4 separate regions of the Homo sapiens genome follow, and regions 2, 3 and 4 are each linked to region 1. Evidence: promoter capture Hi-C in 16 types of primary human blood cells and fetal thymus (Javierre and others, 2016). All regions are on one chromosome and are shown on one strand. The core of a region is centred on a gene start or on the middle of the fragment in contact, and the rest is flanking DNA. Distances in the headings are between cores, read along the strand shown. Region 1 holds the start of NAA30 (N-alpha-acetyltransferase 30, NatC catalytic subunit). Region 2 overlaps L3HYPDH (trans-L-3-hydroxyproline dehydratase). Region 3 holds the start of FBXO34 (F-box protein 34). Region 4 overlaps DLGAP5 (DLG associated protein 5).

The links. The method cuts DNA at HindIII sites, captures the fragments that hold promoters and counts their contacts. A CHiCAGO score of 5 or more calls a contact.
Region 2: a contact is called between a fragment that was not itself captured here and the fragment with the promoter of NAA30 in region 1, in 1 of 17 cell types (total CD8 T cells). The highest score is 5.2, in total CD8 T cells.
Region 3: a contact is called between a fragment that was not itself captured here and the fragment with the promoter of NAA30 in region 1, in 4 of 17 cell types (fetal thymus, naive B cells, total CD8 T cells and 1 more). The highest score is 8.8, in fetal thymus.
Region 4: a fragment that was not itself captured here is called in contact with the fragment with the promoter of NAA30 in region 1 in 1 of 17 cell types (fetal thymus); the score reaches 6.4 in fetal thymus.

Annotation. Positions count from the first base shown.
Region 1 is chr14:57,389,218-57,395,974 of GRCh38, reverse strand. It overlaps NAA30 (N-alpha-acetyltransferase 30, NatC catalytic subunit), which reads right to left and starts at 5,389. Exons shown (of 5, transcript NM_001011713.3): 1 at 5,270-5,389; 2 at 4,247-5,018. The coding sequence starts at 5,017. RefSeq lists silencers at 4,862-5,011, 5,142-5,281 and an enhancer at 4,410-5,405. The HindIII fragment of the contact is 6,905 bases long and covers 935-6,757 here.
Region 2 is chr14:59,473,263-59,480,283 of GRCh38, reverse strand. It overlaps L3HYPDH (trans-L-3-hydroxyproline dehydratase), which reads left to right. Exons shown (of 5, transcript NM_144581.2): 2 at 933-1,102; 3 at 4,070-4,192; 4 at 4,278-4,415. Among named protein-coding and RNA genes, the nearest start is that of L3HYPDH, 7.6 kb to the left of the region's middle. The HindIII fragment of the contact is 1,241 bases long and covers 1,257-2,497 here.
Region 3 is chr14:55,266,117-55,273,198 of GRCh38, reverse strand. FBXO34 (F-box protein 34) reads right to left here and starts at 1,778. Exons shown (of 2, transcript NM_017943.4): 1 at 1,662-1,778. It overlaps FBXO34-AS1 (FBXO34 antisense RNA 1), which reads left to right and starts at 1,121. Exons shown (of 2, transcript NR_184222.1): 1 at 1,121-1,317. RefSeq lists a silencer at 1,227-1,726. The HindIII fragment of the contact is 618 bases long and covers 2,616-3,233 here.
Region 4 is chr14:55,177,808-55,184,916 of GRCh38, reverse strand. DLGAP5 (DLG associated protein 5) reads left to right here. Exons shown (of 19, transcript NM_014750.5): 3 at 1,164-1,357; 4 at 2,485-2,547; 5 at 3,620-3,704; 6 at 4,139-4,261; 7 at 5,218-5,288. Among named protein-coding and RNA genes, the nearest start is that of DLGAP5, 10 kb to the left of the region's middle. The HindIII fragment of the contact is 1,505 bases long and covers 1,934-3,438 here.

The DNA.
Region 1 (6,757 bases), core at 4,140-6,639:
AAATAAATTTAATAATAAAGTTTTAGTGAAAGCCAGATATAATACATATTTACACCTGAATGGTAGATTTCGATCAGGAAAAAAAAATTAAAAATTTTCAGAAAAAGCACAGTTTATAAGGTATTGCTTAGACCATACCCAAGAGGTTTTTGTTAATATATGTAAGTGTAGCATAGTCTCATTTTTAGGATACTCCTGATAGTGTGGATAACTGTCATAAAGCTCTCAGAATATTTATAGTTCAAAATCAAAGCTTTATGTTAAAAGCTTTAATTTTACAGAAATTTCTATTTTAATAAAAACGTACAGCTTTCCAGAGTATTAAAAGCTACATGTTAAATTCTAATCATCCCCCATTTTCATTAAGATTTCTAGTGTTACCATTGAAAATGTTTTTCAAAAATTCCAATGCTGATAAAAAGTTCTAGTAACACAGTATTTCTGGTAAATATAAATAGGGCAGTATCTCCAACTGTTTAAATAATGTGTCAGTAAGAAGTCTGTTTTCCATAAATTAACTTTCCAGAAGAAACTATTTCAACAAAAGCAGAAATGAGTCAAAAAACTAATAAGTAATGTCCAATTTATAATTAATACATATTTTAAATTTGTGACTTTTTTAGTCTGTCATTCTGTAAATTGATTAAAAGGCCTTTTTTTAACTGTGGAGAAATCTTTTCAGCAAGATAATTCTAATCCATTTCATGCAAACCTAAACTAGGTCGGAAAAATCCTTTTGAAGGAATATGAAATTCAACAACCCACGCTAATTCATTTCTGGTTTATCACACATTCCAAAACTATTTTGGGTCAATAAACCTCTGAAATTGTTATTTCTAATTTTTTCCCTCACAATACATCAATCTTTTAAAAAAATTTTTTAAACAAAGACCTGAAGTATGCACAAAAATCGCCTCGACCAACTCTGAAAGCTTTTTCTGATTTGAAACTCACTTCAAATATATGTGCGTATATACAGACACGTATAAATACATACACATACATAAAATTATCACAGACCAAATGGTATATTTAAAAGGGCCAGAAAAAATTTTGGCCTGACCTCATAAGCCAGGCTCAGGTGAAATGAAAACCTGTATTAGATTGATGATACAAACCTCAGAATAGCTACACCTTATATAAAACTATCCAAAAATGAGGAAAAATTAAAACCATTAAACACAATACAACTGGACAGTACTTTCAATCTGAACAGGAATTTCAAACAAATCTTTGTCCTTTGAGCATGGAATAAGCAAACAAAATATTAAATTAGTTCATTCTTAAGACCTGATTTCTTCCTAATTTAGAATCTATAGGAGCAAAAATCAAGCTGTATACATCATCTAAAAAGCCCAATATATCATACACCATTACGATGACATTAGTAGTGAAGACCAATGCTGCATTTTTTTTTCCTGATAAACTACTCATGAATATGTGGTACATTTACAGGAATCACTAAATTGCTTGTCAATTTTTCCAAATAAAAGCTCTGCATATACATTTGGAATTCACGCTATTAAATGTATTTTTTCAAGGATGGGAACTGAAAAATCCCCGGCAAGATTAAGACTTAACACTACAAGGCCAAAGGGTTGTCAGTCTATAAAACTATGAAAAAAATAAAGTGAGAGATTCCCAAATTCTAGAACACTACAAATAGAAAACTGGAGGAAGCCAAAAAGTTAAATTTAGAACAAATAAATGGAAGTACTATGTTACATTTGCTGAGAGTAAGTTTAAGAACTTCAAAAAGATACCAACAACTGAAAATGTTACTATGAAAACAGGTAAAGATAAAATGGTTAAGTACAGAGTAACTGAAAGTGTCTCACATTTGTCCTTTTTTTTTTTTTTTTTTACATCTTTTACAATTAGGAAGAATCATAATAAGCTATCATTTTTATTAATCAAGTATTGGCAATTTTGTAAGGTTCAACCCCATATACTCCATTGACCCATTACAGGTTATCCACGGAAAACGGAACATTTTGGAGGTTTTTAATCTCTTGAGATTGATGTAAGGGCAACTGTCCCTTGGTGAAGATAACTTGGTGACACAATAATCTTCACTGAATGGATCAAGGGTATGTCATTTTTCAGGTTCTTGTTTGTTACCATAATGAGAGGCCAGGAGAACTGGGTTCTAGCTTTACCCTTCCGACGGTAAATATCTGGAGATTGAAACATTTTAAGTCACTTTGGTTCTTAACTTCTTTTCAATCAAAAAACAAAACAAAACCTACCCCTCTGTCAGTAAATATCTGGAGATTGAAACATTTTAAGTCACTTTGGTTCTTAACTTTTTTTCAATCAAAAAACAAAACAGAACAAAACCTAAGTTGGGCTAGATTATCTCTAGGATGGCTTTCAGTTCTAAAAGGATATGATTTAAAATAAACAGACATTTACGCATCTGTATTTTTAAAAAAATAGTTCCTATGGGAAACTTAAATTTAAAAGTATGCCAAGATAAAGGCTTCAGTTTTAAATGGCCTGGTTGTTTTTTTACTGTTTTATTATTGTTTAATACCTCCTGATTCATACTTGCACCAGTAAATCTTATAGGTCAACCACTTGTGCATATCGCAATTCTAGATACTCAGAATATTAAACAAACTTGAGCTACTAAAGGCTAACATACACATTAGCTGGTGAATTGGGAGGGTTCTACATAAAATCAAATCTAAAGTTTACTAATATTGTTGACCAGAGTCTAAAATAGCAAACAAGTTGAGAGAGGCTTAGGTAACTATCAGGACTCAAAGTTGACTAAATATCATATACACAACTATTTCCTGGAATTGACAGAAAAACATCTATTTCAACTTGAAATGTGACTCAATCATCTACTTCTGTGGGTTAACTTACAACTAAATCTACAATTTTTAGCAATTACAGTGGCATTTGATATGACATTTATAATAGTGCTATAAATCATTTTCTCATATTCATTGACACAGACATGTCTTAGAACTATTCTGATACAATGCTTAGAATACTGAAAGAGCAGTTTTCAAGAATATAAAGTAGTACCCACAGTTTTAACAAATGTACTGAATTGAAGTTTAAGCAAGTTAAGACAGAAAATAGAACTACCATTATCTACAATACCCAGGTTACATTTTCAAATTATCACCAAGCTAGAGAATCAAAAAGATAAGTATTGTCAAAATATCTTGCAGGGAATTACCAAGTGAAACTAAGCCAATGCTAAAACATTAAGTAATGGTGGCTTTTCCCTTCACATATTAAAAAATATTCCTTAAAAGGATGTCATCTTTCTGTAGTAAAATTCAACAGAAACAATATGCTTGTGAGCACATGATACAAAGCATACACCTGCAGTCAACGTTTAAGTTAAAGGGTTCATACAGACTGAAATGGGTCAATATTATTGTGAAGAAATTACTGGTACTGCCAATACTATGTTAATTTTTAAAAACCGTCCAAAAGTCTTTCACTTACGTGTAATATTATTGTCAATTATACTCTACACAAGCCAGTGTTACTAGTGTTTGGCCACATCTACAACCAGTTTCTTAAATTAAAAAAAAAAAAATCAGATCGGTAACAATTTCACACAAGTTTTCTACATTCCACAAAAGGGTATTTTGTTCAAGTTTCAGGAGTCTTTCAGCCACCAGAAGTGTTAGTAGCGCTTTCTGGAATGGAGTACCAGAAAGCAGGCTGGCTACAACTGTTAATTGTCCAGTTGAAGTAAAGAGAAACATCTCCATAATTACCGAAAATGCTTGTAAGATTTAATTCTCCAATATGACCACACCAAGTTTGCTGACATCCATGTTCACCACAACATGTTTATGCATACACTCTTCCCTGATTATGGTTGTAATCGAGAGACTAATAAGGCCTGTATCTGAACAGAACCATGTTCAAATTAAATGACTGTAAAGTGTTTGAGGATGCGGGCGGGTAATTAAAGACGGTTAAACACGATTATAATCTAATGTAAACAAGACACAAGACCCCCACCCCAGTGAAACACGCCACCATACAGGCTTGCTGCAGTTACACTAGTATCACGTTAACCCGAATCATGAAGTCTTACCTTCAAAACAATTTCATTAAATAACTAGGAATGTGTACAGCACTTGACATCATATAACGTACTATGATACGCAGCAGGAGATATCCACTGCCACATTCTGGGCCCTCACTCCCTGCCCCGCACAGTCTCGATCACTGCTGGGTTCACCCTCTTTTTATTCTATCCACTTACCAAGAAGCACAGCTGTGGCCAGTTGTGGATAAAATATCTATAGGTATAAATGGAGTAGGGTTCGGACAGATCTTTGGTGATCAGTCTCATGATATCGGGCATTTGTAGCTCGGATTCATATCGGACATATCGTATCGTCCGATCCTCCCCAGGCTCAACCTCCCTGCCCGAAGGGCTTCTTAAGCTGCAGTCGGCGGTCAGGGACGAAGACAGCAGCCGCACCTGCTCGTCTTCCTCCTCCTCCTCCTGCTCGGTGCCCTCGGCCAGTCCATTGCGGGCCGCCGCGGGATCGCTCGCCGCCGCTGCCTCCACCGGGCTGGGGACCGCAGTTCTTGCATTACTAGAGAGGGAGTGAGGGGGCCTCTCGCCCGAGTGTACCCCGGCTCCTTTTGTTGCAGTCGCTCTGGGGCCTCCGTCAGGGGTGGCTGTGGTCGCGGCCACCTCTGCTACGCTCAGGACCTTGCTCTTGAGGGAGGCGGCCGCCCGGAGGTGCCGCAGTTCGGGGCTAATCAATCCGTTGAGCTGCTGCTGCTCCTGCGGCGGCTGAGGGCAGCGGAGGCACGGATGCCCCTTGGCCGCCACCGTCGCCGACTCTCCGCCCGCCGGGCTCCTGCTGCCGCCGCCTTCGTGCTCTTCGTCGTCCTCCTCGTCCTCGCTGCAGCAGGCGAGGGCGGCCCCCGCCGGGAAGGGACAGCGGGGCTCGACCGCCGCCGGGGCCGGAGGTGCTGGTGGTGGGAGGAGGCTGCTAGGCCCAGGCGGTACCTCCGCCATCCTAGAAGCGACACAGACCGAGAGGGGAGGCCATGAAACCCGGCCGAGGAGCGCGGAGAACAGGGGGCGACGGATGGGGGGCGGCCGAGGTGGGGGGAACAAAGGCAGAAACCGTCCCTCACGGAGCTGCCCCCCAATTCCCCGCCACCCCCCCGCTCTTCAGCGCCGCCCAGCTGCTCAGCCGGCCACCGTCCCCGTCCGCCCGGGCCCACCCGCCAGCCCTGTCACTCGCGGCCCCTCCTCACGGCTCACCCCGCACGGGTCCCCGCCGCCGCTGCCGCCACTCCTCTTCCTCCGCCACCGCCGCCGCCTCCTTCGCAGCCGCGGCAGCCTCCACAGCCGCCAAGGTTCTCACTCAGCCGCCGTCGCCGTAAAGCGCCTCAGCTGTTAGGCCGGGTAAAGTTTCCTGGGCCTGGCTTTACGACACTTCCCTGCCTGCCGGCTGCCCGGGCCAAGAGAGAGGGGCGTGGAGGGAGGTGACCTGTGGAGGGGCGGGGACAAAGGTGTCTCCTGCGGGCTGCGGGGAAGGCCGCGTGCTAGTGGGTGGGGCTGTGGGGCCGGGAAGTTGCAGAGGGCTTTGGAGTCACAGGCTCCCAAACCCTCTTCCTCGGTTTGGGGGCGCCTCAACCTGCGGTGCTTGCCACGCGGGGCCGGGGAGGGATGGACCGGGCAGGCGCTCCCTGCTTAAAGTCTACCGCGCACTCCGAGCTGTAGCGAATCTCGCCAATTCGGGGCCTGTGGAACAAGCCGTTTACAAGTCACCTAAAAATGCCCTTTTAAAGCTGCACAGCGTTTAATGTTTGCCCTGACCAGGGGCAAGGAGGATGGGGGAGGAGCGATTAAAAATGGAGCAAATCAGAGAAGCCGACCGAAAAAGAAAGGAAGATTTGAGCTGTGAAAATATGGGGATGGCTGTCGAAACGTGGTGGTTTGCAGTGTGAATTAAGTTCAGCTGGCCCTTGCCACTTTGAGGCAAGGGAGTCAGCCCTCTTCCTCTCCCTCCTTACTCTGCTCCTCGCACCCAGTAAAATTGGAGGCAAAAGTGACTGACAGGTGTTGGGCAATTGCTAGCACACCTGGGGAAGGGTTAGAGAGAGGTGGTGAAAGAGAGTGACCAGGGCTAAGAAGCACACTCCTAAACTTGTGACACAAATAGGTTAGGAAGCACTGGTAAACAGGTGGCCTGATCCTCCCAGGGGATCTGCCTATCGAGTGCAAAGGGGATAGAACTTGAGCTTGTGGCTGGGCGCCTTCTGCTCTAGTCCACAATTGACTCCCGGCAGGTCTGAGCTGAGACAGGTAGTGTAACTCACCCGCTCACTGAACAAATTCGGTTTTGTTAAAAACCTGATTTATAGAGCTGGTCTGGTGTGCCGCAGATGGACGTTTTCAATATATAATTCTATGACGGAACACGTTTGCAACTTTTTGCCGTAATCTAAACTCTATGTATAAAGTATTTATTATGCTCGCAGATTCTGTGCCTCTGAAATCCAGACAGAGCACAACTGGGATGGCTTTTCTCTACTCCATTATGCGTAGAGCTTCAGTTGGAAGACTCTAAGGCTGAGGAGTAGAATTATTTGAAAACTTCACTTTCACCGCTGATGGTTGATGCAGGATAAAGGCTGGAGGCCTCAGTTCTAGTCCATGTAGACCTCTCCCGGTGGTCTTTTAGCATTGATTGGTTTGGGCTTTGTCACAGCCTGGTGGCTGGGTTCCACGGCAAGTATCGTGCGA
Region 2 (7,021 bases), core at 628-3,127, 2.1 Mb before region 1:
TAAGGACCTTCAGCCTCCACTCTTCTCAAGGGAGAAAAAATTTATCTCTAGGAGAAATATTTCTCCCTTCAGGACACTCCTTTGCCAACAGATGTCTTTCCCCTGAGAGCTTAGGCTTCCCTAAAATAAAAACATGAAAGACAAGCTTTCTCCCCTGCCATAGGCTTCCCTAAAAGGCAGTGATCACCAAGCTAGCTTAAATTAGGGAAGAGGAAAATTTGAGAAGGGGCGAAATAAACATCACCCAGCCCCCTTTCTTTGGAAATACAGATTCAAGATTTCAAACTACTGACCTTCAGGTGAAACTTTGGGGATGTTGAGACTTAAAATGCTCAAATAAAAACCCTGGTGCAAAATGATGCTGTAGCAGTCAATGATTCTACAATGGCATTTTTCTGTGTTTGCCTGCAGGATACCTTAAGGAGATGAAAACATGTAGATAAGTGTATATAATTTATATAGAAAAATCTTTTATTAAAATTTATGTTTTGACATTACGGCTGAAGAAAATTGATTTGTAAATAGGATCCAAGACCCTCACTATTTTAAACCATCTCTCATAGTACAAGTGGGGAATAGACATTTTCCTTCTTAGTGTTCACAGGGATGCCCTTGGGTTTCCCTCTCTCGGCCTCAGGGGTGTTTCCTAGAAAAGATCCTCAGGGAAGTTAATGAATATGTCTGTATGAGTTAGGGAAAGCATGGCTTTAGTTTATAACTTCTGCAATCATCAAGTTAAAAATAGAATGATGCATCTAGCTATTATTCACTCGATGCTTATTCATTTAAAAAACGGATTTTTACTTCATTATTTTTATGATAGGAAAAGAACATCCCTCTTGAAAAATAAACATATTAAAAATCCTTTGAATTTTATTGCTAAAATACTTATTAACAAACACATCTTCTTTCCAAACACATCTTTTTTTTAGATCTCATGGTGGATGTTCCTGGACATGGAAAGGTGATGGTGGACATTGCATATGGCGGTGCATTTTATGCATTTGTTACTGCTGAAAAGTTAGGACTAGACATTTGTTCTGCAAAGACCAGGGACCTTGTGGATGCAGCGAGTGCAGTGACAGAGGCAGTGAAAGCTCAGGTCAGTAATACTCTGCCTTCATAACCAATTCCCTTCTCTGTGGCATGGAGGAAATATACATTATTATGTCTATAAAGAAAATTAAATGATGTTTAAATTATTAATAGTACTAAGAATAGGGTACTTATTAAAATCTTAGGCTCTAGAGCAAGCTTGTCCCACCCGTGGCCTGTGAGCCACATGCAGCCCAGGATGGCTTTGAATGTGGCCCAACACAAATTTTGTAAACTTTCTTAAAACATTATGAGTTTTTTTGCAATTTTTTTTTAGCTCATCAGCTCTCGTTAGTGTTAGTGTATCTTATGTGTGGCCCAAGACAATTCTTCTCCCAGTGTGGCCCAGAGAAGCCAAAAGATTGGACATTCCTGCTCTAGAGCAAAACTATCTATGAGTTCTAGCTTTACCACTGGTAACGTATATAACCTTGGGCAAGTTACGTAACCTCCATATGCCTCAGTTTTCCTGTCTGCAAAATGGAAATTAAAAAATACCTGCTTTGTAGGGTTGTGAGAATGAAATAAGTCAATACATGTAAAGGACTTAGAGTAGTGTCTGGCCAATAGTAAATGTTCAGTAAATGATAATATTATTTTTTTTGAGACAGGGTCTTGCTCTGTCACCCAGGCTGTAGTGCAGTGGTGTGATCATAGCTTACTGTAACTTCAAATTCCCAGGCTCAAAATGATGCTTCTGCCTCAGCCTCCAGAGTAACTGGGACCACAGGCATGCCCCATCACACCCAGCTAAATCTGTGTTTGTGTGAGTGTGTGTGTGTGTTTATATAGAGACAGGATGTCACTATGTTGCCCAGGATGGCCTCAAACTCCTGGCCTCAAGTGATTCTCCCAGCTCGGCCTCCCAAAGTGTTGGGATTACAGGTGTGAGCCACCACACCTAGCAGTTACTAAATTTAATAATACATACATACTAATATAGTTTATAGTTCCTTAAATGTGTAGAAATATATTTATAGAATTCTGCAAATTTTAAATGCATGTGTGTGGTCATTCTGTTAAACTTGAAAATAATAAATGTAAAATATAGTGTACAGAATAGATTTAAGCCTTTTTCTTATTTCATAGAGAACATTAATTCCTATTATTTTTTTCCTACATTGCTAAGAAGTTACTCAAATAACTACTTAAATAACTCTAGTTTTTACTTGGGAAAGCTAATTTGATAAAATCAGTTTAGATAATAATTCTAGGATATTCTTTCACTTCTAGCACGAGTGAAGCACATTTTACCTTGAAATTGGGACCTATAAATAAAACACATGTACAGTATTTGAATGTTTAGTACGTGAGAATTTAGTATGTGAGAATTTATTAGTAGTAAAAAGTAACTTGTGTAAGATAGTGTCTAATGTACGAATAATTATCATTTTCTGAAGCTTTATTTTAAAATAATTTATAACTTAAAATGAGAATATACACTGTATCAGTATTCTAAATTATTTTTCTGGTACTGCCAGTACCAATATGTGCAATTATATTATGATAGCAACTTTTGAAGCTCTGAATTTACATCAGTTTTCTGTTCCATTAAGCAGGACAGCTAATAGTCTGAGTTAACAATTTGGCACAAAATAATTTCTCCTAATTTTTCATGAATTCAAGAGAAAAAGTCATGGATATCTTAATAAAAGGTGTAATTTTGTACTTCTCATTTGAGTTTGAACTCAACAAGATGGCAAGGGGTGGACTTTGAGGGAGGAAGGATTCTGAGAAAAATGAGGACAAGTTCTGTTATTGATGTATCAGACAGTACAATTAATTACTCTGTGAACTGTTGACTATTCACACTGCTGAAGCAGATTTAGGAAAAGGCCATGGGGATGGAGAGTTAAAGTTAATATAAATTCATCTTAATTCATTCACTCTTTTAACAAACATTTACCACAAACATACTGTATATATGTTAGACATTCTGCTAGATCCTGGAGACTCGAAGAAAGAACAAACCCCACCTTTGAGGAGCTAGCTCCAGTTGGGGAAGCGAGCATACCTGTGAACAGTGTTATGTTGGAATGTGCTATAGTGGAGGTGGGGCGTATCACTTTAAGAGGATGGAGAACAAAGATTCAATCTGCAGGCCGCTTTAACTTGGTTTCAGATGGACTCTTTGGATGTTAAGAACCCAAAGCTGTTCCATTGCTTTAAATGACATGTAACTGGAAGTAGAAAGTACTAATTGTAAGCATATACAAGGGAAGTCAGATTATAGCAATCTCAGTCATACTGTAAATGTTTGCAGAAATCCAGGAAAAGTTAAAGAACTAGACTTCCAAGAACAAGTAGCTTTGCATATTTGGGCCTGAATCTACCATTGAGTGACTTAGCTACCCTGCCAGTGCCTGCTTCTTTGTGTGCATATCTGCTGCTTTTTGATGAATCAACTGACTTCATCGTCTACAATAAATCTTTTTTTCCTCCAATTGTTTCTCTTGCCTAATAGTTTCTGCATTCTTACAGAATGTTATATCCTCTCACAGCCTTTGTCTCTATCATTGGTGTTAACTTCAGCTCTAGATACTCAGAGCCTGATTTTCCCACATTATCCTCCTTAAGCTCCTGAGAATAAGACTATGATTGCCTTAGCTCATCCTGTTTGAGCAGCCATCGCCAGCCTGTGGATTGACCATCCTGGGGTCAGTGCTGCAAAGACTATGTGTATTTGGGGTGGGAGGGGTGTATAAAATAGGACTGCTTTTTTAGCAAAGGCTATATGCAGGACAGCTTCCTTAGAAGGGACTCAAAGTATGATAAGAATTATAAATTGCAGTAAAACTATGTTTCTTCATCTAGACAAAGACATAATTTCTAGCAATTAGTATACGTTGCCCAAAAAGGTATTTTAAAAATGATAAGGATTAAAAAGTTATGTCTAAGAATGACCCATCTGCATTATTTATAAATTTGAATCAAAATATTTATTTTGCATGTGATCTTTTTTTGTTACTTGCAGTTTAAAATTAATCATCCTGATAGTGAAGACCTTGCCTTTTTATATGGAACTATATTAACAGATGGAAAAGATGCTTATACCAAGGAACCAACCACCAACATTTGTGTTTTTGCAGATGAACAGGTATTAAAACTGTAATGTTTAGGGACAAAAGCCAGGTAATATGGAACACACTATGAACATTCTGTCTTCATTTATTCTGAAACAGGTTGACAGAAGTCCCACTGGCTCAGGAGTGACAGCCCGAATTGCCTTACAGTATCACAAAGGGCTTCTGGAACTGAACCAGATGAGAGCCTTCAAAAGCAGTGCAACTGGCTCAGTATTCACAGGGAAAGCTGTGAGGGTAAGTGGCACCCTTAGCTTCTTATTTATAAATGTGTCACTCATGAGACTGGAGAGGCCTGAGTTGGGTGTTTGATAAATTTCTTCACTCAGCTCTCAGAAGAGAATTTTAAAGCAGGCCTGTAAAAACTTCTTTTCAACTAGGACATTGGTTATCCAGTGTGGTCTTGGGGCCCCAGCGGGCCCCTAAGGTCCTTTCCATGGGTTCAGAGGGTCAAAACTGTGTTCATAATAATGACATTATTTGCTTTTCACTCTCATTCTCTCAAGAGTGTACAGTGGGGTTCTTCAGAGGCTACGATGTGATATGTGATAACCCAACCAATTGAATGCAGAAGCTAGATATGAGAACCTAGTTGTCTTCTGTTAAGCCAGACATGAAACAGGTTTGCAAAAATATCAAACAATGCCACTTTTCTCATAATTTTTTTTGTTTTGGCAAACAGTTATTTTCACAAAAATGTGTTATTCATATGTTAATGTATAATGGGTTATTTTTAAAATGAAGTAATGAACAGATATATCCAATTCCTAATACAGTAAATATTGATAGATATAACTTATATAAAGAAAAACTCTTTGGGGTCCTCAAATCTTAAGGTATAAAAGGGTCCTAAGACCAAAAGGTTTGAGAACCATTAGGATTTGGGGTTTTTTTTTGTTTTTTTGTTTTATTTTATAATAGTGTTTTATTTGATATAATAGGATGTGAAAGCCCTGAAAAGTTGTGGAACATCAAATTTTTGTAATGGAATAAAATTTTAAATGTGCTAACAGCTAAGTAATGAATCTTATCTCAGTAGTAAATGAAATCTACTACAGAATGATCTACATTCAGTAAATTATTCTACTCATAAAGAGTCCTTTAACATAGCAAACAATCTATCCTAATATAGCTGTTTTTAAGATTTGGTGTTTCTGAATATTAGAGTTTCCTTAAGGATCTCTACATCATATAGTGATCTGAAACATGTGAAACCATTTATGTTGTATGCAAAAATTTGGAACATACTGTCTTCAAAATCTGAAATGGAACATAAAAATAACAACATACATTTATTGGATACTTCACTGTGCATCAGTTTCCAAGCTAAGCACTTGATACATGCCATCTCATTTAATCCTCACAAGAATCCTACAAGGTCAGTACTGTGCTGTTATTATCGTTTTTCAATAGATGATAAAACGGAGAATTGGAGAAGTTAGGTAATTTACCAGAGGTTAGTTAGTGAGTAGCAGATCCAGGTCATGAAGGTGGGTCTCTGAACAGACCACATGCTGTTAAGCATTATATTATATTGCTGTCAGACAAAGCAAAAGGTCAATGAGGCTTTATATTATAGGAGCTGTTATGAGAAGAATCTGGGATTGCAATGTCCCCCCAAATAGAGAGGGAGCCGAGAGACCAAAGAATGACTCAGACAAGTCCAGGTTGGCAAGTAGATGCATTTATTAGAACTTCCATATAAGGCACTCCTGGGAAGCAGCTGAACAACTGTGGAGACCCATCCTGCCTCCTGACTCTAAGCTGCTTTTAAGCTAATTTTCTGGCTCTTTGCCTACTGTGTATGTGTGATAGGACTGTTTTCCTTGGTATGTTCCCAGATATTCTCTGGGATATTTGGGTTCTCAGGGATACCTGCTTCTTGGCTGGGCACCATGCCCTTGGCTTACCCCCCAGCCTTCAGGGTTCAAGCAGTGGACATACACCCTTACATAACCTGGTGAAGGACCTGTCACACTACAGCAGCTTTATAAAAAGATATAAAAAGATAAAGTATTATACCCTAACAATATTTGACATTTTACCTTTAGCTTCAGTTATTATTCTTTTAAAAATTAGAACATAAAAAGATATGCTGAAGTTAATGTTTCCAGTTACTTGTTTTATAGTTATTGATCATGCTTGCCAGAATGTCTTCACTTGCATCATGCTCTCTCCCTGTCTGTGTGGGCCCGTCCAGGCTCCCTGATGGTACCTTCTCAGTTTCTTCCCCTGCTGCAGCTTCCTTTCCCTGTCCTTCCATTTAGATGTTACCGTCACTTCATCCCCACCTTCCTTCTCATCTCTTCTACAGTTTGATGCTGCTGGGCAATTTCATCCACTTCCTAGGCTTCAGTTCTCAACCATCTACTGATGATGACTCCCAAATGTTTATCCCTGCCCTGACTACCTACCCTGTATGTCTTTCTGAATATAACGCTCTTAATCCCAACTGTTTATTATACTCATCTCTAAATGACTGTCCCAGAGGTGTCTCAAACTCACCTTGTTAAAAAGTTCTTCCTTTCTTCCTTTCTCAAATGTGCTCTTCCTTTCTCTCCCCATTGTGTTTAATGGCATCACTAGCATCATTTCCAAGCTAGAAACTATGGTTATAATTAACTTATTGCTAGTCCTCAATTCCCACATGCATTGATCAAGAGGCCTATCAGTTCTACCTCCAAACTATCTCTATGTTAGTATATATTCCCCTTCTCCATCTTCACTGAAAACTCCCATAGTGACTCTGGAATCAATCATTCAGTGAATTGAGGTTATCTCTTAACATGTTTCTGGGTCTCTTGTCTCTCTCTTCTCCAGTTTGATCCCCACTTTACAGCTAC
Region 3 (7,082 bases), core at 1,675-4,174, 2.1 Mb after region 1:
TTGAGAGAGAGGAAAAAAAAAAAACCGTACCATTACAAGTCAAGGTCAGTGAGGAAGGATTAAGGACTTCTACCCAAGCTTCCTGCTAAAGACTAACTATGCTTCAAGTTTAAGCCATCTACCTTTTGAACTAGATTCCATTTACATTATTCTACAGAGGAGGAAATGAAAAGTACTGATATGCTGGAATACCCGAAGAGGGTCACTATGACAAAGTGACTAGCTTCTCTTCCAGTTAGATCTCTTCTGAAAGCTTTGGAAGAAAAACAGTATTCACAGACAAATCATTTTTTTATTCTCTAATTTCATATTTAAAAGCACTACAGACAAAATTTTAGTTACCTATCCAGACAAGCGGTCCTGGAATATGTTTTTATATTAAGTTATAGCCGGGTCTCAGTAAGAAAGCAAGAAAACAGCTTGTTGCTGACTTCTAAACCATGGTAGCATGGGGTGGTAGCATGGTACCATAGGGTGGGATAGGGACAACCTGGATAAATTAACTCCTCAGGTAATTATTATTTAAGACAAATGTTGGATTAATTCAAACTCCTCCCTCCCTTTACAACAGAAAAAAAAAATCATGTAAGATCCACTCTCCCTCCTCCTGGCCATTTTCTAACAAAAAATGCTAACAAGCAGATAGATGTCCAGTTAAAAAAAAAAAAAAAAAGCAAACTGATTTATCAACACTAGAAGTGGTTCTCTTTTTTTTCAGTAATTCTGATTGCAAACTATCAAACTACGAATTTAGCTTCCTAAAAGGCTTTTTACATTACACCCTCCAAAAAACCTCCTACCCTGACTTAAGTTTTTCTAAATCAAATGTCTTATACTGAGCTGTACTCGCAACGCTTGCTGGACAAGAAGTTAAAGAAATTGACAACTATTACATTAAAATTGCAAAATGCTGATACCGAACAACTTTCGATTCAAATCCACTGCGATTCCAAGCGTTCGTGGAAGACAACTTCCTTTTTCTACCCTGCGGGTCCCCCCGGCCCTTCCGTGAGCCCAGGTCCCCGCCCGGGCCTGCAGTGACATCCCAGGACCCATCTTCTGACGTCACAGACACACGGACCCACAGCCCTATGACTTCATCGTGGACTGAGGACGAACCGCAGTCGACTTGCGCCAGCCCAGAGGCTGGGGAGGCGTCCGAGCCTCCGTCCCGCCTCGTCGTTGAAGAAGGTTAAGGACAAGCGCCAGCTCACCTGCGCTGGGGCAGGGAAGGGCAGAGTGGCCGAGCCCGGGAGGGCGCGACAGGGGCGAGGCGACCCCAGTCCAGAGGCTGACTTCCTCACCGCCCTGGGTCCCGTAAGTGGGAGCGCCGGTCCGGTGCAAGCTCACGGCCTATCCGTGAATCTCCTCGGCTTCAGCGGGGACCCAGGACCCCGCTCCCTACCCGCCCGACCCTCCGTGGCCCGCGGGGACGCTCAGCGCCCGGGCCGTGCGCGCGGAAAGAGCCGCACCGGAGGAGGCGCAGGCGGCCGGGTCCCTACCCCGGACCCGCGGGCGGCGCCCCCGCCCCCACCCCCACCCGCCCCGCGCCCCGGGAGCGCAGGCAGGCGGCGGTAGGGGGCGGGGAGCGGCCACGGTGGCCGCCGCCGGACCCCAGTCGCGCGGCCCTCGCGCCACGCCCCACCTCGGCCCGGACCCACCTGCGCTCCTGCCCCGGCCGCGGCCTGGCCCGGGGCTGCACCAGCCCGACGCAGTGGTGGCGGCAGCAGCGGTGGCGGGAGGCCTGGCTCACTCCCCACCGCTGAGTCGGACCGAGCACCCAGCGCGGCGCGGCGGCGCCCAACGCTCGCCCCGAAACCCATTTGTTTGGCTAAAACGGAGTGACGTCACGCGCCGGCCCAATCGACGGTTGGCCGGGGGAGGGGCCACGGATCCAGAGTTTCACGGCGCCCCCTGCCGGACACTGGGGGCGGGAAGGGGGAAGTGAAAAGGGAGACCTGGATGACGCGTCTGCGGCCCCCAAGTGGTAGAGAATGAAAGTTTGAGCACGACTGTAGGGAAAGGAATCAAACCTCCCAGGCCAGCCAAGAAGGGTAGTGACGCCAGGGTTCAATCAGCAGACATGTCAAGTTTATGAATATTCGTGGGTGGACCTGAAGCTGTAAATGGTCTCAGATACTATTAGATAACCTAGTAGACCTGGATCCTCATACTGGTTCTGCTGCTAGCTTGGAAGGCTGGGGTTCAGAGTTTCAATTTGTAAAATGACAAAATTGGAAAGGTCCCTTCTGACTCTCTTTCCTATGAAAATCATGGCAGGGATACCGGTCAGAAAGTAGATAAACGTTGAGGCTGACACGAAACTGTTAAAGTCTGTAGAAGCTTAAGGGCTGGTTAATGATGGATATAAATTTTTAACACTTTATATTCAAATCAGAGGGCCAGTGAGGAACTTTTGATTCCCAATCTTTAAGCTTATTATTGTTTTCATTGTGAAAATAATATTAACCACATTGAAAAACATGAGGACAATGTATTTTCTTCTAGACCTTTTGCCCCATCACATATATTTTACTACACTGTAATAGTAGTTGTACGCGATTTTGCATCCTCTTTTCACTTTTATAAGCATTCCTCATATTTCCACATAAGCTTCATAACCAGTTTAACAGCTGCATAAAATTACATTAAGTGGACATAAAATTTACTGCAGTAATTCTCTATTTTTGGACATAACTTGTTTCCTTCATTCACTTTTTGCCATTATAAAGAAATCATAGAACATCTTCATGAATGTAGATTTTTAAAGATACCCAAAAGTGAAATTACTAGGTGAAAAAGACTATCAACACTTTCACAGTTACTAATACAAACTGCCAAATGATTTTTAAAAGGTTGTACCAAGTTACACTTAAACCAGCAACTTTGATTTTAGCCAGTCCTTAACAAAAATAATTTTGTCCAATTATAAAACTACTGTTGTAAAATATATGTGTAAAATCTTAAATATTAAAACGTAAAAACAAAATAAAAATATTTCCCATAATCTCATCACCAAGAAATAACCACTCAGTATCTCCATCTAGACCTTTATCTATATACATATTTTTAATAAAAATTGGAGAGGGGAAGTCCAGGCACGGTGGCTCACATCTCAAAAAGGAAAAAAAAAATTAAGGAAGGGTGTTATATGGTACACCGTGGCATCAAACTGTATGTCTGATTTAATATGTGAGCAATATTAGCTCAATATATCATGATCATTTGAAGCTTCTTTATGTCATAGTTAGCTCAAAATTGTAAAACTTCAGTTTATCCTTTCAGATTCATCTCAAACACTGTCCTTCTTAAAACCTCTTGATTCCTTCTGGGCATGGTGGCTCACGCCTGTAATCCAAGCACTTTGGGAGGCCAAGGCATGCAGATCATTTGAGGTCAGGAGATCAAGACCAGCCTTGCCAACATGGTGAAACCCTATCTCTACTAAAAATACAAAAATTAGCCCGGTGTGGCAGGGCACGCCTGTAGTCCCAGCAACTTGGGAGGCTGAAGCAGGAGAATCGCTTGAACCTGGGAGGTGGAGTTTGCAGTGAGCTGAGACCACACCACTGCACTCCTAACTGGGCGACAAGAGTGAGACTCCATCTAAAAAAAAAAAAAAAACAAACAAAACTTGATTCCTGTTGATTAGAGGACTCAAAAAATTGATATAAAAATGAAATTAATTTTAAAAGACATAATAAAAGCCCGAACTATTAATTATTATATTTTTTCATCTTTTTCTTGAGGCAGGGTCTCACTATGTTGCCCAGGGTGGTCTCAAACTCATGGCCTCAAGCAATCCTCCTTTCTCAGCCTCCCAAATAGCTGGAATTACAGGAGTGAGCCACCATGCCTAGCCTATGAATTATTGATTATTAAAGTCCACAGACATAAAATTATTCTGTCAAATTGCTAGTAAAGTTTCTAAAATCTGATTCTCAATTTCAGTTCTTGTCTCAGATTGGCCAGTGAACCACACTTTAAATAGCCCCAGTCTAGGAGAAAAGAACTAGGAGAGAGCATAACCATGTTAGGCAAGAACTTCCCTTGATTTTGTTTCTCCATTTGTATAATGGCAATGATCCCCTAGAAGCAAAGCCAGTAGAGCCAGTATAGTTTATCAACCCACAGGTCCTGTGGTAGGTCTTCAGGAAGGTGCTCCCCAGGTGGGCATGGGGTGGCACATTGAGGCCATGGGACTGGTGAGAGCCGAAAGAAGAACAAGACTGAGGTGGCACAGCAGCAGAAAAGTTCTAAATATATATAGTATATATATTTGGTTATTCCATTAGTAATTAAAACTTAGTTGTTTCAAGCCAGCAAACATATTAATTAAAACTCAGTTCAAGGGATTTGTCTTGTATAGACTTGGTTTCATTTCTGTTCTTTGCTCAGAAAAAAAAAAAAAAAAAACTAAGAACTTACTGCTTATTCCTTAATAAGCTTACTCCAACCTCCAAATAAAAACACCCACTGCTATGGTTTGAACGTGTCCCCCAAAGTTTATGTGTTAGAAACTTAATCCTCAATGCAACAGTGTTAAGAAGCGGGACCTTTAAGAAGCAATTAGGTCATGAGGGCTCCGTCCTCATGAATGGATTAATGCCATTATCAAGGGAGTGGATTACTTATCAAGAGAGGGAGTTACTATAAAAGCAAGCTTGGCCCTCTCTATCTCTCACTCTGTTAGGTGTTCTCTTGCTCTTCCACCTTATACCATGGGATGATGTAGCAAGAAGCCCCTCAAGAGTTATGAACCCCTTGACCTTGGGCTTCCCAGGCTCCAGAACTGTAAGAAATAGATCTCTGTTCTTTATACATGACCCAGTCTCAGGTGTTCTGTTATAGTAGCATAAAACAGACTAGGACACCCACCATTTCATCTTCTCTCTCTCACCCCCCAACCCTCCTTATCAAACTTACTTCCCCGCTGCTGGAGAAAGGAAACCAAGAGACAGGCTCCATTAGACTTTGCATCTAGACCTACTTTGCTGCAGAACCTAGGCCGCTGGGTGTGATAATGCCTTTCCCTACCTACTTGACTGTGTTATTATAAAGACCAAATAAGAAAAGAGAAGCAGAAGTGCTTTTAAAAGTTTCAACTTTGCAAAAGTAAAGCATGTACTTAAAAAATATGCCTGGAATGTGGCCGTTGGAGCATGCTTCAAGCCCTGAGCTTATGCCCAGGTTTATGCATGTGTGAAGCTCATTGGTGATGACGGGGGGATGGGCAGGAGCTACTCAGCCATGAGAATATAAATATTATCCACAATAAATAGAACAACTCAGGGAAAACTAGAGCACCAAGGCAGCACACTGTCTAACAGATATGATTCTATCTTATAATTAAGATGTGGATGGTGAGGGACATAAAGTTGAATAAGTATTGAAACCCAGGAAATCATAGTTCTTATCCTTCTTATCCTTCTTTTTAGATCTTGTGCCCCTGTGAAAATCTGATAAGAGCTAAAAATCAAGAGTCTCTTTGGAGACTCTTAGCAGAAGTAAAAAAGCACACCCTGATATATACAGACAGTTTAGAAGATAATTTTAATTTTTTTAAAAGTTCCTTAGATTAACTTATCTTATAGTGATCTGCACTCTCATGGTGGGGCGGTGTAAGAGACATGTAGAGCAAGGGCAGCCCTTCCAGTACAATGGATGGGAAACAAATCAAGGTCCCAGATCCTCCTATCCCCACAGTATTGCCCTCAGAACATTCAGAAGGTGGTTTCTACACTGTCAATACAGTGAGCCACACAATTTCCATAGGTATCTCTCTTTTTTTTTTTTTTTTTTTGAGACAGGGTTTTTGCTCTGTCACTTAGGCTAGGCAGCAGTGGCACCAACTCGGCTCACTGTAGCCTTGACCTCCCAGGTTCAAGTGATCCTCCCACCTCATCCTTACAAGTAGCTTGAACCACAGATGCTCGCCACTGTGGCTGGCTAATTTTTTATTGTTGTTGAGATGGGGTCTCCCTATGTTTCCCAGGCTGGTCTCAAACTCCCAGGCTTACATGATCCTCCCAACTCAGTCTCCCAAAATGCTGGGATTACAGGTATAAGTCACTGTGCCCATATTTCACTTCTGATAGCATATAAAAGGAGAAATTCTGGCCGGACGCAGTGGCTTATGCCTGTAATCCCAGCACTTTGGGAGGCTGAGGCAGGTGGATCACAAGGTCAGGAGATCGAGACCATCCCGGCTAACATGGTGAGACCCCGTCTCTGCTAAAAATACAAAAAATTAGCCAGTCGTGGTGGTGGGCGCCTGTGGTCCCAGCTACTCCGGAGGCTGAGGCAGGAGAATGGCGTGAACCCGGGAGTCAGAGGTTGTAGTGAGCTGAGATCACGCCACTGCACATCAGCCTGGCAACAGAGCGAGAGTCTGTCTCAAAAGAAAAAAAAAAAGGAGAAATTCCTTCTCTTGCTAAAGTTATAAGCAAGGCTTAGACTGAAATCGTCACATTCTTTTCATCAAAATTAACACTTGGGCAGATTAGATAACAGGCCACAGTGGTCTCCAAGTCCCTCCTTAATGTTTGAATTTTTACTAGAATTCTAGGCACAAGTAACAATCTGCATTCCTGATGTCCCTACATTTAAAAGCTCTATGTAGTCTATGGAACTCAAGTGCAGTACAACAGAAGTCAATGACAGCATTATGTTAGCTCTTCCGTCAAGTCAGGCAATCTCTGTTCCATCTCGAGGTCCCTCAGCCCGGAAGCTTCCTCTCCCCTCTGCACCTCATTGGCCCCAACACTACCTTAGGTGTTGGCTTAACAGTCTCCTCAGGGCACTGAAGGTGCCAGACTTTATATTTAGAGGGATTTTGGAGGCACTGGGGGTGGTGGGGGCGGGAGGGGGGTACAAAACTGGGGAACTTAATGTTAGGAACATTTGCCTAGCCAGCACAATTTTTACTTAGATATTATTTTTATTTGGGGTGGCATGGGAATGCAGTTAGAGCTTCTTCAAGCCAGGATTTCCCTAGCCTTCCTATCTAGTCGCCCCAAAATTATTCTCTTTCACAAAGCTGTTTAGTTCCTTCATAACACTAATTACACTAGAGTTTATTT
Region 4 (7,109 bases), core at 1,437-3,936, 2.2 Mb after region 1:
TATTGATTATTTCATACAATTTTTGTGGGTCAGGAACTTGGGTATGGCTGAGCTGGGTGATTCTGAAGATAGCAGCCAAGATGTCATCCAGAGATATATCTGAAGCCTTAACTGAGACTGGAGGATCTGCCTCCAAGATGACTGACTCACATGAACAGCAAGTTGATGCTGGCTTTTGGAAGGAGGCTGTAGTTCTTTGTCATGTGGACATCTCCATAGGACTGCTTGAGTCTTCTTAAGGCCCCACATGGCACCTGGCTTCTCCCAGAGCAAGCGACGCTTCAAGAGAGAGCAAGGCAAACACTACCCTAGTTTTAGAAGTCATATTCCATTATTCCTGTAATACTCTCTTGGTCACACAAGTCAGCCCTATTCAGTGTGAGGGGATGACACAGGGCAAGACTACCAGGAAGTGAGGATCAGTAGAGGGCAGCTTGGATGCTGGCTATCATACAAGTTAATTAATTTAAAAGTGAAGTAATAAATGCCTATTACATAGCAAGCAGTTAATATTTGAACACATGAAGGCAAAATGAATACAAATTTTAAAAGACTAGGGGTTGAAATAACTTGTGGTTAGAGTGCTAAAGAATTAACAAGAAATATTAAAAGCATTTCCCTTTGTGCGGAGAGGTCTTGCTTTGTTACTCAAGCTGAACTTGAACTCCTGGGCTCAAATGATCCTTCCACCTCAGCCTTCCCAGTAGATGGGACTACAGGTGTGTTACTGTGCCTGGCTTATTGAAAGCCTTTTTTTTTTTCTTGAGACGGAGTCTTGCTCTGTTGCTTAGGCTGGAGTGCAGGGGCGCAATCTTGGCTCACTGCAACCTCCATCTCCTGGGTTCAAGCAATTCTCCTACCTCAACCTCCCGAATAGCTGGGATTACAGGTGACCGCCACCACACCCAGCTAATTTTTGAATTTTTAGTAGAGATGGGATTTCACCACGTTGGCCAGGCTGGTCTCAAACTCCTGACCTCAGATGATCCGCCCTCCTCAGCCTCCCAAAGTGCTGGGATTACAGGCGTGAGCCACCGTGCCTGGCCTGAAAGCATTTTTTAGCAGCAGTTGAAATGACACAAAAATAATTGTTTATACATTTGCATAACTTTTCATCTGAAATGTTTTATATACTGTGTGGTTTTGGTTTTTTTTCTGCCTAGGGGCAATGAAAACTATTCTAGGTGATCAACGAAAACAGATGCTCCAAAAATACAAAGAAGAAAAGCAACTTCAAAAATTGAAAGAGCAGAGAGAGAAAGCTAAACGAGGAATATTTAAAGTGGGTCGTTATAGACCTGATATGCCTTGTTTTCTTTTATCAAACCAGAATGCTGTGAAAGCTGAGCCAAAAAAGGTAAATTTAGTGTCTTAATATAAAGGAATAGTTTCTTTTATTTGGTATTTTCTTCAAGACATTAAGTGACTAACCCCTTTCCCTTAGTCTCATTATTAACTGGTTGGTAGAAGGTGGGAATGACATAATAGTAGCTCAGAAGAATGAAAATCAGGTCTCTTAAGATAGCTGTAGGTAAGTTGAGATAGGATAAAACTAGGAAAATTGGTAGAATCAGGCTGAACAATGTTATGCAAAGGATTTGGTGTTTATCCTGTAGGTTTTGCAGAATCAGGAGAAGTTTATAAATAAGGGTAGTGCCGTTGTCAAATTAATAATTCAGGAAAATACCATAGCCCTAAAGATTTTAGTCTGGAAAGGGAAGCATTTATAGATAGGGAGACCAATTGTGAGACTATTGTAATAGAATAGATGGAAAGGGGCAGTGGGTTTTAAAAGGAAAAAATAGGTGTAAGACATCTAAATAAAGGCATTTGACAGGACTGGTGGCCAAGTAGATGGTGAGGGGTAAAGGAAATTGAAAAAGCAGAGAGAAGCTCTGCTGCTAAAAGAGATAAGGAAGATAAGGAACAAGCTTAAGTGGGTGCATGTTAATAACCTTTTTAAAAATCTTAAACTTGTGTGGGCCACCTAGATATTAGTAAAAATTTGGAAAGAAGGATGGAAATTGGTGCTAAGATGTCGATTTAGGATATAATATTGGGAATATGGATGAGTGTTTAAGCTGTAGGACTAAATGAGACCATTCCAATAAGGATATATAAAATTATGAAAAAGTGGGCTCTAGAGAGCACTTTTAGGTAGGCAGAAGCCAGGTACCAGGCTGAGGACTGGTCAGAGAGGCAGGAGAACTAAGAGAGGATAGAAGCTCATATTAATGATGATTCCAATACCTGGAAAATACGGTTTGAAATTTCTTTCTCACTGAGAAATGTGAGTAATTTTTGAAGTTACTAACTTAATTTAAATCAAGCTAGAACCAGAAAAAGGAATTTAAGTATCTTTTTGCTATAAGAGATTAAGGATAAAATTTAACTTTAAAATGGGAACTTTATTTTGTAATAAGATATGGAAGTAAACCTTTACCAGTTCATATTTTAAGTTCATCTTCTTTTGACTGTTCTAAGGCTATTCCATCTTCTGTACGGATTACAAGGTCAAAGGCCAAAGACCAAATGGAGCAGACTAAGGTATAGTTGATAGTAGATAATTGTTACTAAAATGATAAATTGCACTTTTTTAGTAAGTAAATTCATTTTAAATCTAGTATCAGATTCAAACATAATGATTAATTTACTAGAGTTAACAGGTACCAAAGTCACTGTTTTTAGTATGGTGATGTAGAGCAATTTCACTTAAAATATTTGCTCCAACATTCCGTATGAGATCCATGGCAAACTGTCTTTGTGTCACACTCTTGTTTTGTTTAGTGGGCTCCTATTATGCATTCCAAGTTACCTGCATGAAATGCATATGGGGAGGAAAGCACACAGGGTAGGTGTTATAAACTTACGGGTCTTCAAAATACTGTAATAGAGATATCAGGAGGGTTACTAAAACAAAGTGAAGTGGGCAAGAAGGGAAATAATATGCCTCTTTATCAGGTGAGGAAGCTAAGTTCCACGTATGCATATATATTTTGCATTGCTATGATGTTCCTGGTGTTGTAGGCTTTTGGATATAATAAACTAAATTCTCTTTGTGGAACTTACATGTAAGGCATTTAAAAAAATACATAATATGCCAGAAGATGATAAGTATTATGGAAGAGATTTTAAAAAGGGGAGATGGGGTGTACTAGAAATAGGTATGGGGTAGAATTTTGATTGGGCAGTTAAGGAAGGCCTCCCTGAGATGAAAGCCTTTTGAGTGAAGTCATTATGGAAGTGGAGAAGAGAACCATGGGAAAGCGCTTTTTATCCAGGAGAAGTATTTTCTAGGCAAAATTAAAAGGTCTTGAAGTGAAAGTATGTCTAGGAGTGTTTAAGGACCTTCAGAAGGCAAGTTATAGTGAGCTGTTTTTAATAGCTTGGGTTATTAGCATTTTCCAAATTCTGTGATTGTGAAAAAGGATGTAAGCTTTTTTGGAAGCTTAATGGAAAGCTTTTCTTTATCTCATTTTATTTGGGGTAGTTTTTTGTTGTTGTTGTTGGGTCATTTACGATGATCAGATTTCATATGAGGAATCAATTTACAGATTAAAAATATGATGGTCTGATTCATTATGCAATTAAATCACATAGCACCTAATCTCTTAAATAGATTGATAACGAGAGTGATGTTCGAGCAATCCGACCTGGTCCAAGACAAACTTCTGAAAAGAAAGTGTCAGACAAAGAGAAAAAAGGTAGGAATATTAGCAATTACTATAAATCCTCTGAGGCTACCACAGCCATAATTTTTTTTAAGTGTCTTGAAGGTCAACTGGAATTTGTTCGTTTGTTTGTGACAGAGTCTTGCTCTGTTGCCCAGGTTGGAGTGCAGTGGCACAATCATAGCTCACTGGAGCCTCCACCTCCTGGGCTCAAGTGATCCTCCCACCTCAGCCTCCTGAGTAGCTGCAACTACAGACTTGCCACCATGCCCAGCTGATTTTTATATTTTTTGTAGAGACGGGGTCTCACTATGTTGCCTAGGCTGGTTTCGAACTCCTGGGCTGAAGTAATCCTCCTGCCTCCCAAGTAGCTGGGACTACAGGCATTGCACTACCATGCCTGGCTTCACAGCAATAATTTCATAACTACAAGGGACATTTGATGTAGTTATTTTTTTTTCCCACAGTTGTGCAGCCTGTAATGCCCACGTCGTTGAGAATGACTCGATCAGCTACTCAAGCAGCAAAGCAGGTTCCCAGAACAGTCTCATCTACCACAGCAAGAAAGCCAGTCACAAGAGCTGCTAATGGTGAGAACTATTCCTTGATCAGTGACTGAACTAGAATGTTTGGTCCTTGAGGTTTTTGTGTTCCGTTTCAAAAATCAACAAGTACTTCTTTGAGTAGGAGAGAAGGAAACAGGAAATTCTAATACCTGAAAATAGATTCTGTGCCCTGACATCTGGTTAGCACACAATGGGTGCCCAATCATTGAAGACCTTAATTAGTATAAGCAGTGTTTCAAAGTGAAAAATTAATGGTCCGAGTAAATCACAGTTCATTTATTTGGTGCAATACAACGTAGCCATTAAGAATAATATTATTAAAGAACACTTAATGACATGGTTCATGATATATTAAGTGGGCAAAGAAAAGCAGGTCAAACTCTGAACAGTAGGATCGCAGTTCTAAAAAGCATTATGGGAATATGTGGACATAGGACTGGAAAACCATACCCTGAAGTGACAGCTGAGTAATGGAATCCTGGGTGATTTGTCATTATTGTTCTTTGTAGTTTTCTGTTATTTTTCTAATTGTCTGTAATAAATATGTACAGGCTGAGCAACCCTAATCAAAACATCCAAAATTCTGAGCATTGACATGAAGTTCAAAGGTCATCCTCAAAGGAAATGCTCTTGGAGCATTTCAGATTTTAGATATTTGTATCAAGTATGCTGAACCTGTAAGTATAATGTAAATATTCCAAAATCTGGAATCTAAAATATCTCTGGTCCCAAGCATTTTGGATAAGGGATACTCAATCTGTATTTGGTATTCAGATGAAAAGGGTAAAACACTCTGGTTTTGAAAAGAGATGGTTTGTATTTGGCAGGAAATTCCATAACCCTTTTTATAATATGGCTTTTAATAAAAAAATCCTTCAAGACATATATTCCTACTGTTGCTTCTTTTCCTTTCCCAAGTTACCTAGTATTTTCATGTAGCATTTCTATCTAGTAAAATAAATATTTTATTGTTGTTTTAGAAAACGAACCAGAAGGAAAGGTGCCAAGTAAAGGAAGACCTGCCAAAAATGTAGAAACAAAACCCGACAAGGTAGAGAATAAACATCTTTTTAATTCTAGATGCTTTGAAAATCTCATTGCTACTTTCATAAAGTTGAAATTAAACATAAAGAACTGCTTCAAAAGGTTAACCTACATGTGTGTTAAAACTTCCTGAACCATAAGAAAGCATCAAGAGGATTTACTCTTGTTATTTTTCAGGTATCTTATTTTCAGAGCTTTATAGGTAGAGAAAGCATAATTTTGTTAGAAGATGGAGAAAAATAATAAAAACACAGCTGAGAGAAACCTGTATGTGGGAATTAGCCAAGACATAGGGTGAAGTGGGGTGAAATGCATTGACTTTGGATTCATTTAGGCCTGGGTTTGAATACTCTCTCTGCTTCCAATTAGTTGCATAACCCTGGGCAAGTTATGTAGTTTATGAGCTTCTTTTCTTATTCCTAACATGGAATACCTGCATAGAGTAGTTGTAAGAATTAAATAAACTAAAATTTCTGCCTGCATCTAGCATGGTTTCTAATAAGGTCTTCAAAAAAGATGCCCCATTTGAGGACCCAACCCCTTGGCCTATAATCTATGATATAGTTTATTTTCTTTTATTTTATTTTTTGAGACAGAGTCTCACTCTGTCGCCCAGGCTCGAGTGCAATGGCGCGATCTTGGCTCACTGCACCTTCCGCTCCCCGGGTTCAAGTGATTCTCCTGCCTCAGCCTCCCGAGTAGTTGGGATTACAGACGTGCACCACCACGCCCATCTGATTTTTGTATTTTTAGTAGAGACGAGGTTTCACCATGTTGGCCAGGCTGGTCTTGAACTCCCGACCTCAGGTGATCCACCTACTTCGGCCTCCCAAAGTGCTGGGATTACAGGCGTGAGCCACCACGCCTGGCCAGTATAATTTCTTAATTTAAAAAAAGTACCAAAGATTAAGTAACCTGGCTAGATTCTTAGTAAAAAATCAAACACAGATCAAGAAAGGAAACACACAGTGAATCTTCACAGATAAAGCAGCTGGACCTTATAGGTCCCCCCTTAAGATTAACCCTTAAGGATTATCACTAGTTTTTGCTTTGACTGCCATGCTGGCTTCAACAGTGTTACCACTTAAACTCTTGTCCAGGTTGAAATACCTGGGTTTGAGTTCATATCTTATTAAAAATCAGAAACCTGGAAACCTCTAGAAATTATTTAAATACCAAGTAACAAATTGACTTGAAATAGTAAATATGCTTTGTATTTTATATGGTTAATCTTTTGTGTCACATTGAAAGTATTGCTCTTGTGTTAAGGTTATTTATAATCTAAGGTTATTTAACTTAAGAATTTGGTCCTTAATGATAGTCATTCCATAATGTTAGATTTCTGATTTTAAACCATTGTAATTATCAACATAATTTTTTTTTTGAGACAGAGTCTCGCTCTGTCGCCCAGGCTGAAGTGCAGTGACACGATCTCGGCTCACTGCAAGCTCCACCTCCCGGTTTCTCACCATTCTCCTGCCTCAGCCTCCCAAGTAGCTGGGACTATAGGCGCCTGCCACCACGCCCCAATAATTTTTTGTATTTTTAGCAAAGACGGGGTTTTGCTGTGTTAGCCAGGATGGTCTCGATCTCCCGACCTTGTGATCCGCCCGCCTCAGCCTCCCAAAGTGCTGGGATTACAGGCATGAGCCACCGTGCCTGGCCGTAATTATCAACATAATTTAAGTAAAAAGATACGTATTTGTTGAATAAGTTTTTCCATATTAATTTTCCATTATCTTTTAATTTGTTGTAATACCCAAAAGGTATTAGTTAGTCTTTAAATAAGAATTGGTTCGGGGTGGGTGCGGTGGCTCCCGCCTGTAAT